Linked DNA regions of Homo sapiens: region 2 is linked to region 1. The links are contacts of gene promoters, found by promoter capture Hi-C in human tissues and cell types (Jung and others, 2019). All regions are on one chromosome and are shown on one strand. The core of a region is centred on a gene start or on the middle of the fragment in contact, and the rest is flanking DNA. Distances in the headings are between cores, read along the strand shown.

What was found. Contacts are between HindIII fragments. The study calls those that stand out against the background at their distance.
Region 2: a fragment that was not itself captured here is called in contact with the fragment with the promoter of YES1 in region 1 in 1 of the 25 tissues and cell types used here (H1 embryonic stem cells).

Annotation. Positions count from the first base shown.
Region 1 is chr18:809,364-814,808 of GRCh38, reverse strand. YES1 (YES proto-oncogene 1, Src family tyrosine kinase) reads left to right here and starts at 2,567. Exons shown (of 12, transcript NM_005433.4): 1 at 2,567-2,695. RefSeq lists enhancers at 1,365-1,906, 1,907-2,449 and silencers at 2,181-2,690, 2,741-2,800, 2,871-2,960. The HindIII fragment of the contact is 17,179 bases long and covers 1-5,445 here.
Region 2 is chr18:531,672-537,116 of GRCh38, reverse strand. No RefSeq gene overlaps it. Among named protein-coding and RNA genes, the nearest start is that of LINC01925, 19 kb to the right of the region's middle. RefSeq lists an enhancer at 523-1,176. The HindIII fragment of the contact is 4,543 bases long and covers 710-5,252 here.

The DNA.
Region 1 (5,445 bases), core at 1,318-3,817:
GTTGTTAGAAAAGAGGCACCTTGTGTAGGGCTGCAGGCTTTTTTACTGTTACCAGGAAGAGAAAATCATCATAGCCTCAGTGGCGGAAGCAGCAGCAGCAGCATATCACTGATAGCACGTAGGAGAGGTTTACCCTAAACAAAAACATTTCCTGGTAGAATCACAGGTTCCAAGGTGGTACTGAGTGGGCCCTAGTTCAACTTTCAGCTTTTCAAACTTCCAGCCAAATAATTTTAAGCATTAATCAACTTACATAAATGAAAGCATTTTACTTTTATAGGGACCTAACATATCTCATAAAGTTTGTTTGTTTAAAGCTTTCCCCTAGCTTTTTCCTCCAGCAGACATTTCCAGGGGTTTCAAGACTTAAGTTCCTTATCACTCCCTAACACACATGTACATACCACACCTCTATGCTGTGCAGGAGGGAAAAGTAGGGGCAAGCTTATTTGTCCGTTTCAGGATGAACAGATTAAAAGCAATTTTTGTTACACCAAACTCAGTAAGACTTTCCAGTTTTCTCTTCCTCATTAAAAAATTTTTTAAAAAATATTCCTGGAAACAAGTGAGCCACTAAATGTAAGATTGAAAACTTTCCAGGTTATTTACAGACTGAAGTTTGACATTGATGAATATACTAAAAAAGAAATCAGGGAATGTAGTAATAAAAAAAAAAAGGGAGGGCGAAGAGAAGCAAACTCAGTAAGTCAATGTAATCCATAACTTGTAGGTGACATTCTGACATACTCTCCCAACTTTAAAACTCCATATAGAACATCTTCAAAGCCACCTTACCCCTTAAACTGGGGCAAACTACTATTTCATTTCATTATTATTTTTTAAAATATATTTTACTAAATAGATAGGAGGTCTCCCATGTTGCCCAGGCTGGTCTCCAACTCCTAGACTCAAGTGATCCTCCTGTCTTGGACTCCCAGAATGCTGGGGTTACACGTGTGAGCCACTGTGCCCGGCCTATTTTAGAGGTGATTTTTGAGACTGAGTGTTTAGGAAGACGAAATTATCTCTATTTAGTGAAGAAAGGCAACAGCTCAAGGAATTTTCTATTTTAATAAAAGCTGAATATAGACCTACATAAAATTTTAAAGCCCTGAGACAGTCAATGACAAATGAAGTTTTAGTAGCTAAGAAAATACAGCATCGTTCCACATTATGTGTCTCTTTAACGCCTACGCCTACCTTTCGTTCATTTAGTGAGCTGAAGAAAAAAATGTTCAAACCCTTATATGCATTTCCTTAAGTTCCTAGAATACCGGAATACTGACACATATGATTGCACTATTTCCTATCCGTCGAAGATGATTCTGAATTTCACTAAAAACCGCAAAGGAAACCAATAGTCACAAAATAATTCTGATAACCCCACCAAAGAGGAAATAAAGAGAGGAAGTTACTCTAAAAGTCTGATAGGGCAAAAGTGACTGCAGCAGAAGGGCCTCAAGGTTCAGTCCATGAGGACCTTGATTAACCTTCATCTTTACGCCCCCACCCCATCCTTCCGGGTCCTCCCCCTTCTTCAACGACTGGCTTTACAAGGCTCATAGGAAAGGTGCGTGTATTCAGACGGACACGATTCCAGCTGTGGCTCCTCCACTTTCAGGGTCGCTGTTTCCACAGTTGACAAGCAGGAGAACCATACTTGTTGCACTTCCCTCACTGGGCTGCCGCCAGCATCATATAGAAAAACGCTGTCCCAACATAAGCCAAAGCCACCATGACTGGGATAGTCGCCAAACAGAACTCAGCTTCGGTTCCCCTCCCGGCAAGGCTGGTTCGACCTACAGTCAACAGGAAGCTCCTGGGGGCAGGGACAGGATCCCTGCCTCGGAAGGAGGCAAGACGTGAACGTTTTTTGGACGGCGATCAGGATGGTGATGAGGGTGTGAGTAACGCCCCCGGCTCACGCGGTTGGGCTTGAGATTTTACTACCAACGACAAAGGGTGCGGAAGCGTAGCGCTGAGAAGCAAACAGCCAACCAAAAAAACTCAACCCCGTCCTCCCCCACAAAAGCAAGCCCCAAAGCCCTGGCCACTACTGAGAGCTGGGCCAAGGAACAGAGAAAGGCAGAGGGGCAGAATCGGAGCGCTCCATTCAATCTCCGCGGCAGCCGAGCGTCGGTGGGTTCGCGGGTGGGAAGGGACGCCGCGGGCCTGCTCTCCGGGCAGGGAAGCACCTCCTCCTCACGCCCCCTCGGCCTGCACCGCCCCCGGGAATCCGCCCCGGACCCCGCCGCCATGTTGGGTCGGGAGAAGTGACACGGACCGGTCGCCTATCCTGACCACAGCAAAGCGGCCCGGAGCCCGCGGAGGGGACCTGACGGGGGCGTAGGCGCCGGAAGGCTGGGGGCCCCGGAGCCGGGCCGGCGTGGCCCGAGTTCCGGTGAGCGGACGGCGGCGCGCGCAGGTACCCGCAGCCCCCGCCCCCGCTAGAAGTCAGGGGGCGGGGCCGGGGGGGGGGGGCGGAGGAGGTGGAGAGTGAGGCCGAGGCGTGGGGAGCCCGGGAACTCCCTCCTCCTGAAGTAACGCGTCCCGGGCCGGCTCTGCCGTCGTTGCTGCCGCCGGGCGCCCCGGGACGAGGAGGTGGAGGAGGGAGAGGGCCCGCGGGCCTCGCCTCCGCCCTCCGCCACCTCGAGCTGCGGTAGCAGCGACTCATGAGAGCGCGGCCGGAGGACAGGTAAGGACCCGGTGGGGCCCCGCGGGCGGAGGGTTCCACCTCTGCCCGGACAGGGCTAGGCCCCAGCGCCCGGAGCCGCCGCCGCCGCCGCCGCCGCGGTTCCCCGCCCCCGCGGGCCCGAGTCGGGAAGTTGGGAAGAAACTTCTCCCCTCCCCCGGATCGCCCGGCGGGCTTGTCTCGTTCCCCGCGCTACCTGCTCGCCCCTGACTCGGTCTCTGCCCTGTCCAGACCTGCCGGGTCCCGCCCAAGTCCGACCTGAGGTTCCAGGGGCGTGGGGACACTCCCCACCCCTTGTCTTTGGGGTCGTGTGGACCGCCCGGCGACGGGGAGGAGAGGTTTATTTTTGCCCCTACGGCCGAAGTAGGGGCGAGGGAAGCGGCCCCTTTGGGTCCTAAAGGCTGGGGGTCTGTGTATCGGCCGACGCCGGTAGCAGCTGTGCGGGGAGAGGAGCGGGTGTGTGGGGCGAGTGGATGAGCCTTTCTGGCTTTACTTGGTTTGATTGAAAACCGCAACATGTTTAAAGTTTTCCTTTGTTTTGGGTTGGGGGTTGGGAAATTTACCATTCAGCGTCCACTTTTACGGAATCATGCCACTCCGCCTCCCGTTGCGTTCGGTTCCCTGTCCACATGTGTTAAAGAAAATTGTCTTAAAGTGTGTTTTTCTTCTTGATAATTGCTTCCAGCTTTCACTTTATTGGGCATGGGGCAGAGCTGTTTTAAGAAGCTCTTTGAAAATCAAGTCTGGTGTAGGGACTTTAGTTTTTGTTTTGTAATGAGTAGGACTTAACAGTTCGGATTTGGTTGAATCATTTTCTGCATAATTAATTGATACAGGCGTGGAATAACATACTGTATAATTATAAATTACTAAAGGAAATAATGAAAGTCTTTGGTGGAAGCACAATTTTATGTCCATTTATTATGTATATACGTTCCACGGGTGTGTGTTTTCACAGTCGATTTCACATGATATGATTATAGTATCTTCATGTATTATAACTGTAAGATTACAGTGCCAAAGATACCTTGATAATTTTAAATATTTAAACCATCCTGTTACACTTCTAAAGTTAAATTACGCACTAAGGAAAGTATTACTAAATGTATACACGTGACTGTGCATTTAAGGAAAAGTGCATGGTAAATCTAATATCTTAACTATCACAGTGCTTGGCACACGGTGGACAGGAAGCATTTTGAATGGTCAGGTAATAAAGGAGTATCTTGTATTAGCCAAGGATCTTGTATGCATCACTTACGATGTTCATATATTGTACAGTAAGAAAGTTTTACTTTAGCAAATAATATATATGGTTTTTTGGTTTTTGTTTGTTTGCTTATAAGTGTGAGACCCCTGCCACAATTGACATGTAAGGAAAGGAAGTTAAATTGTATTTTTATTTTTGGACATTAGCTAAAAGTCGGTGGAGATTTTAAATGCTGGTTGACAATTCAGAGGGTCCTACATTTGAAAAAGACAATTGCCTTTGATCTGAAAACAAAACAGTTTATATCCATGTTTCCAGGATAAAAGATAAAAGGGCTCTTAAAATATATACTCTGTTGTAACCACTGTAATGTTATAATGGCTTTAATTTCGTAGTTAGGTTTTGCTGACTTCATAAACCACAAAATTGATTCCTTTCTGTTCATCTGAAAGTGAAATTACAGCTTTGACCTGTCTTCCTGGGTTAGGTGGAATTTGTCTTGTGGTCGAAGTATAATATTAATACATGGGCTGTTTTTGTGTGTGTGTTTTAGTTCAGGAAATTCACAAGCTGAAAAATTAATGTCTATGCAAGTAAAATTTCTTCATGGTATGTATTGATAAAAGAATAAATGTGCTAAAAGACTAGAAGTAAACCTGTATAAGTGAAATATTACCAACCGATGGTGTAAGACTTACTTATTCAAAGTTGAAATTTGCATCATGTTAGACAGTAAATGATTTACTACTATGGCTAGTTTTTCTTTACAAAATCAGTGTAGACATCGTTTATTCTATTAGCATTATAGTAAGAAAGAAGACTAATGCCAAAACAATTTTTTAAGTGATGCTAAGCGCTGGGGTCACCCAAACTTGGGTAATTAAAAAAAAAAAAAAACCTGCAAGGAAATTCTGTGAACGTAAAAATAGAAGCATAGAATACCTGTGGTTCTATGAAGGGAAATATATGGGAAGAGGGAGGAGATTGTGATAGGGACCTGGCTTCTGAAGTGGTGACAAAGTTCTTTTAACCTGGTAGGAGTTACCAAGGGTATTGGTCTTAGTGTAATTCATTAAGCCCTACGTTTGTGTGCAGAATCTGTTTCTATGTTTTATTTTACATGAATTTGTTGTTGTTTTTTTAAGGAATCCAGTGTGTAATGTCTATATAAGGTGCTTGGTTTAAGAACATAACTTGGTGGCTGACTTTCGAACACTACCTAGGCTATCCTTTGCAAATAGGATTAGATTTATTAAATCATAATTGTCATATACCAGCTGTATGTATAACTACTTTGAACACGTCAGGCTGGGCACGGTGGCTCACACCTGTAATCCCAGCACTTTAGGAGGCAGAGGGAAGGGGATCACTTGAGGCCAGCAGTTTGAGACCAGCCTGGCCAACGTGGTGAAACCCCATCTCTACTAAAAAGTACAAAAATTATCTGGGTGTGGTGGCGCGCCCCTGTAATCCCAGCTACCTGGGAGGCTGAGGCACGAGAATCGCTTGAACCCGGGAGACAGAGATTGCGGTGAGCTAAGAT
Region 2 (5,445 bases), core at 1,732-4,231, 280 kb after region 1:
CATTCTCCACATCACTTTCAGGTGCACCAATCAGACGTAGATTTGGTCTTTTCACATAGTCCCATATTTCTTGGAGGCTTTGCTCATTTCTTTTTATTCTTTTTTCTCTAAACTTCCCTTCTCGCTTCATTTCATTCATTTCATCTTCCATCGCTGATACCCTTTCTTCCAGTTGATCGCATCGGCTCCTGAGGCTTCTGCATTCTTCACGTAGTTCTCGAGCCTTGGTTTTCAGCTCCATCAGCTCCTTTAAGCACTTCTCTGTATTGGTTATTCTAGTTATACATTCTTCTAAATTTTTTTCAAAGTTTTCAACTTCTTTGCCTTTGGTTTGAATGTCCTCCCGTAGCTCAGAGTAATTTGATCGTCTGAAGCCTTCTTCTCTCAGCTCGTCAAAATCATTCTCCATCCAGCTTTGTTCCGTTGCTGGTGAGGAACTGCGTTCCTTTGGAGGAGGAGAGGCGCTCTGTGTTTTAGAGTTTCCAGTTTTTCTGTTCTGTTTTTTCCCCATCTTTGTGGTTTTATCTACTTTTGGTCTTTGATGATGGTGATGTACAGATGGTTTTTCAGTGTGGATGTCCTTTCTGGTTGTTAGTTTTCCTTCTAACAGACAGGACCCTCAGCTGCAGATCTGTTGGAATACCCTGCCGTGTGAGGTGTCAGTGTGCCCCTGCTGGGGGGTGCCTCCCAGTTAGGCTGCTCAGGGGTCAGGGGTCAGGCACCCACTTGAGGAGGCAGTCTGCCCATTCTCAGATCTCCAGCTGCGTGCTGGGAGAACCACTGCTCTCTTCAAAGCTGTCAGACAGGGACACTTAAGTCTGCAGAGGTTACTGCTGTCTTTTTGTTTGTCTGTGCCCTGCCCCCAGAGGTGGAGCCTACAGAGGCAGGCAGGCCTCCTTGAGCTGTGGTGGGCTGCACCCAGTTGGAGCTTCCCAGCTGCTTTGTTTACCTAATCAAGCCTGGGCAATGGCGGGCGCCCCTCCCCCAGCCTCGTTGCCGCCTTGCAGTTTGATCTCAGACTGCTGTGCTAGCAATCAGCGAGACTCCGTGGGCGTGGGACCCTCCGAGCCAGGTGTGGGATATAGTCTCGTGGTGCGCCGTTTTTTAAGCCGGTCTGAAAAGCGCAATATTCGGGTGGGAGTGACCCGATTTTCCAGGTGCGTCCGTCACCCCTTTCTTTGACTCGGAAAGGGAACTCCCTGACCCCTTGCGCTTCCCGAGTGAGGCAATGCCTCGCCCTGCTTCGGCTCGTGCACGGTGCGCGCACCCACTGACCTGCGCCCACTGTCTGGCACTCCCTAGTGAGATGAACCGCGTACCTCAGATGGAAATGCAGAAATCACCGTCTTCTGCGTCGCTCACGCTGGGAGCTGTAGACCGGAGCTGTTCCTATTCGGCCATCTTGGCTCCTCCTCTGTTTGTTTGTTTTTTTGAGACAGAGTCTTGCTCTGTCACCCAGGCTGGAGTGCAGTGGTATGACCTCTGCTCACTGCAACCTCCACCCCCCAGGTTCAAGCAATTCTCCTGCCTCAGCCTCCCGAGTAGCTGGGATTACAGGCACATGCCACCATGCTTGGCTAATTTTTGTATTCTTAGTAGAGACGGGGTTTCACCATGTTGTCCAGGCTGGTCTCAAACTCTTGACCTTTTGATCCACCCCATGCCTCGGCCTCCCAAAGTGCTGGGATTACAGGTGTGAGCCACTGCACCCAGCCCTGTAACTAGGTTATTTATAGTAACTTCTCAAAATTACTTTTAGAAAGCTTGAGAGACAAGTTTCTTTCACTATAAATGAAAATTAAAACGTTTATAAGGTTGTTCCTAAGGAAGATGTTTAAAACTTTTTTCTAAAACATGAATAAAACGTCAGGGATTCTCAACCTGGGCAACATAGTGAGACCCTATCTCTACAAAAACTAAAAATGAAAATAAAAATTAGCCGGGAGTGGTGGCACATGCATGTAGTCCTAGCTACGCAGGAGGCTGAGGCGGGAGGATTGCTTGAGCTTGGGAGGTCGAGGCTGCAATGAGCCATGAAGGCACCACTGCACTCCAGCCTTGGCGACAGAGTGAGACTCTATCTTTTAAAATAACAAAAAACAGGCCAGGCATGGTGGCTCATGTCTGTAATCCCAGCACTTTGGGAGGCTGAGGTGGGTGGATCACCTGAGGTCAGGAGTTCGAGACCAGCCTGGCCAACATGGCAAAACCCTGTCTCTACTAAAAATTCAAAAATTAGCCGGACATGGTGGTGGGTACCTGTAATCCCAGCTACTCAGGAGGCTGAGGCAGGAGAATCACTTGAACCTGGGAGGCAAAGGTTGCAGTGAGCCAAGATTGCGCCATTGCACTCCAGCCTGGGCAACAAGAGTGAAACTTCGTCTCAAAAGGAAAAGAAAAAAAAAAAAAACAGGGAGTCATTTAAATTTCAGTTGGCCAATTATAAAATTTTTCTTCTAATTATTCGCTTTTGGACAATCTTTATGGATAAAAGAAAGTTATTAGGAATACTAAAGCTAATGGAACTAGTAATAGATAACATGCCTGGTGTATACATTAACAATCATTTAATGTTAATATTGTTAAGATTTTTATTAGTTATCTTTAAGTCTTTAGTAACAAGGAACTGAGTTGCCGGTAACTAATCTCATGACTGGATGGGACCCAAAACAAATAAAAGGTAAAAATAAGCAAGCCAACACAAGAGACGAAATGCTCTTGTATAATTCCCAGTAAGTCTCAACCTCAGGCTCTTCTAAAGCAGGAAAGAAGTTGAGTTACTTCCCTCTCACATAACCCTGTGTTCTTTTCTCAATTTTGGAAAATAAGTGGCTTCAATCATTCACTTTAAGTTAAATGTGCTCATCCCTTCAGTAAATGTTTATCTTGGACTCCAAGGAACAGATTGCTGAAGTAGGTGCCAGGTGAGCAGAGAGGGGACCAGCTTCATCCTTGCCTTTGGGCAGCTCATTCTCCAGGAGGGAAGACTGAAACGTACACTAGCACCTCATCCACCAGATTGCGAGCTTTAACCGAGATATAAGTGTCTTTTTTTTTTTTCTGAGAGAAGGTCTGGCTTTGTTACCCAGGCTGCAGTGCAGTGGCACGATTATAGCTCAGTGCAGCCTCAACCTCCCAAACTCAAACAATCCTCCCACCTCAGCCTCCTAAGTAGCTGGGACTACGGCATGTGCCACCACGCCCAGCTTGAATCTGTCTTAGGCCATCTTTGCCTAGCACATGACTAGCACAGTGGACATAACTCAGTGTTCAATAAACATTCCATAACTGACTAATTAAATAAATGCATGCTCATGAGTGGGGTACTAATCAGCTTCTCTTTTTCTCATAAATAAGAGCTCCCTTTAGACAGCACCAATCAAAATATTGAACAAACAGCTTTCCGGGGAAAAGGTGTTTTGGAGGAAACCATACAGGTCTATATGTCAGCCTACATCAATCTGATCTTCTATACTCCAACTTTTTCATATTGTCTTCAAATAGGAAAGGAGTCATAACTAATGACTTAGATGTTACTGAGGTTTTCTGTTAGTAACATAAAAAATCTGAGACAACCTTAATTCAACAACTCAGGATTGGCTACAGACAATACAGGGCACACCTACGGTGGAATCCTATGCACCTACTACAAATCCCATTATGGAAATAGATTTGTGGGTGTGGAAACATTTATGATATGTATAGCACTAAGTGGAAAAAACGCATGTTACAACCTAGGTCTCCTAACAGCTTTGAGTATCATTTGAATGCTATCACAATTGTGGATCTCAAGGAATCATGGACTCTGACAGATATTTCATGTCTTTGTTGGTGTTCCTGCCCTAGACTGCAACTGCTCGCTCTATCCTGAGTTTCAGGATGAGATTGATGATAAAACAGATGAAATACTTAGGCCCTAAAGACAGAGTACTAAATTTAAGAGGAGACTTTGGGTGAATGTATCCAGACTGGCCATGATGCTTCCAGGCTGAGCCAGGAAGCACCATCTGAGCAAATAGACTCTCCCAGAATCATTTTATGGCATTAACTTCACACTTAGGAGTTTATTACTTGAACCAGATCATTTCTGTTGCCATGCATAAATTTGTGTGTGCACCTTTGACCCTAAAATACAAGTGTGAGCATGCAATGGAAGACAGCAGTTGGCCCAAGACTCCAGAGTTCAAGCCCTGCCTCTGCCACTTAATAGACAGGTGGCCCAATGGAAGACACTCACTTTCTTAGCCTTATTGTTTGTATAAGTAATAATAGGAGTCATACATAGCCAGCTGGCCTAATGCCTAGGCTGAGTCCCATATGGGAAAGTGTGCTTCTACAGTGCAGACTTTATACATGTCTAAGGTGTTACTGTCATCAGATGGTGGTGGAGAATGTCTGGGTATTGGGAGCCCTGGTTTTAATTCCTACTTTAGTTGTATATCAACTGGAGACAATCACAAAAGCTCCTCAGGCCTGTTGACTCAATGGTCAAACGCAGAGATTTGCGTAGGGATTTGCTAGATATACTTCTGATATGAAAATTCTATTATGTTGGAAAATAATCTCTGATGTTTCACTCTTGTTTTTAGTTTTCTCATATAATAAAAGATTGAGTCTTGGATTTGGCTTTATGGAACTATATGTGAGCGTGCTTATGCAGAGGGGTTACTGGGGAGGAGGAGAGAGGAGAAGGGGAAATGGTCAAGAGGAAGGGGAGAGGAAATTGGAAAGAGGAAGAGGGATAAGATGTTACAACAGGCATTGTAGATTGGGAAAACAGACCACCTGGAACTGAAGGCCCCTGATTATGTGCTCTGAGGAAACAGGAGCCCAGGGACAGGGCGGATGTCGATGCTTTGACAAGCCCTGCTCTGGTCGTGAGTGAATCATCAGACTCACCTGCCTCCATCCCCAGCCCCACCCCACGCTGCTTCTGCTGTGCCAAGTATTCCTGATTTGGGTGTGGTCTTCTGCTTTCTCAACTTGTTTCTCTGAGAAAAATGACTTATCTAATTTAGGCACAATGACTTTGATAAGTGAAGAATTCCTTGGGAGTAATTACAGACAAATCCACATTAAACTATGGATAATTTTCTATTGAAATGGATTTCTTTCTACTGTTCTCAATTAAGATTCTGTCTTCTGGGACTCAGCTTCAAAGGTTGTATTTTTCTCCTTGTGGTTGCCAGAGACATTGTGTTACAATGACCATCTGGACACCAGAAGACCTGATTGCATCTAGCTCAGTCCTCCAGGCAAGACAGTAGGACAACAGAGATTGCATTATTTGGTCAAGGGAGGTCAGATATGTCAGGCAAGGCTAAAAATTTGACTTCTTAGCATTTTTTTGTTATTATTATTTTAATTGAGACAGAGTCTCGCTCTGTCACCCAAGCTAGAGTGCAGTGGTGCAGTCATTGCTCATGGCAACCTCAACCTCCTGGG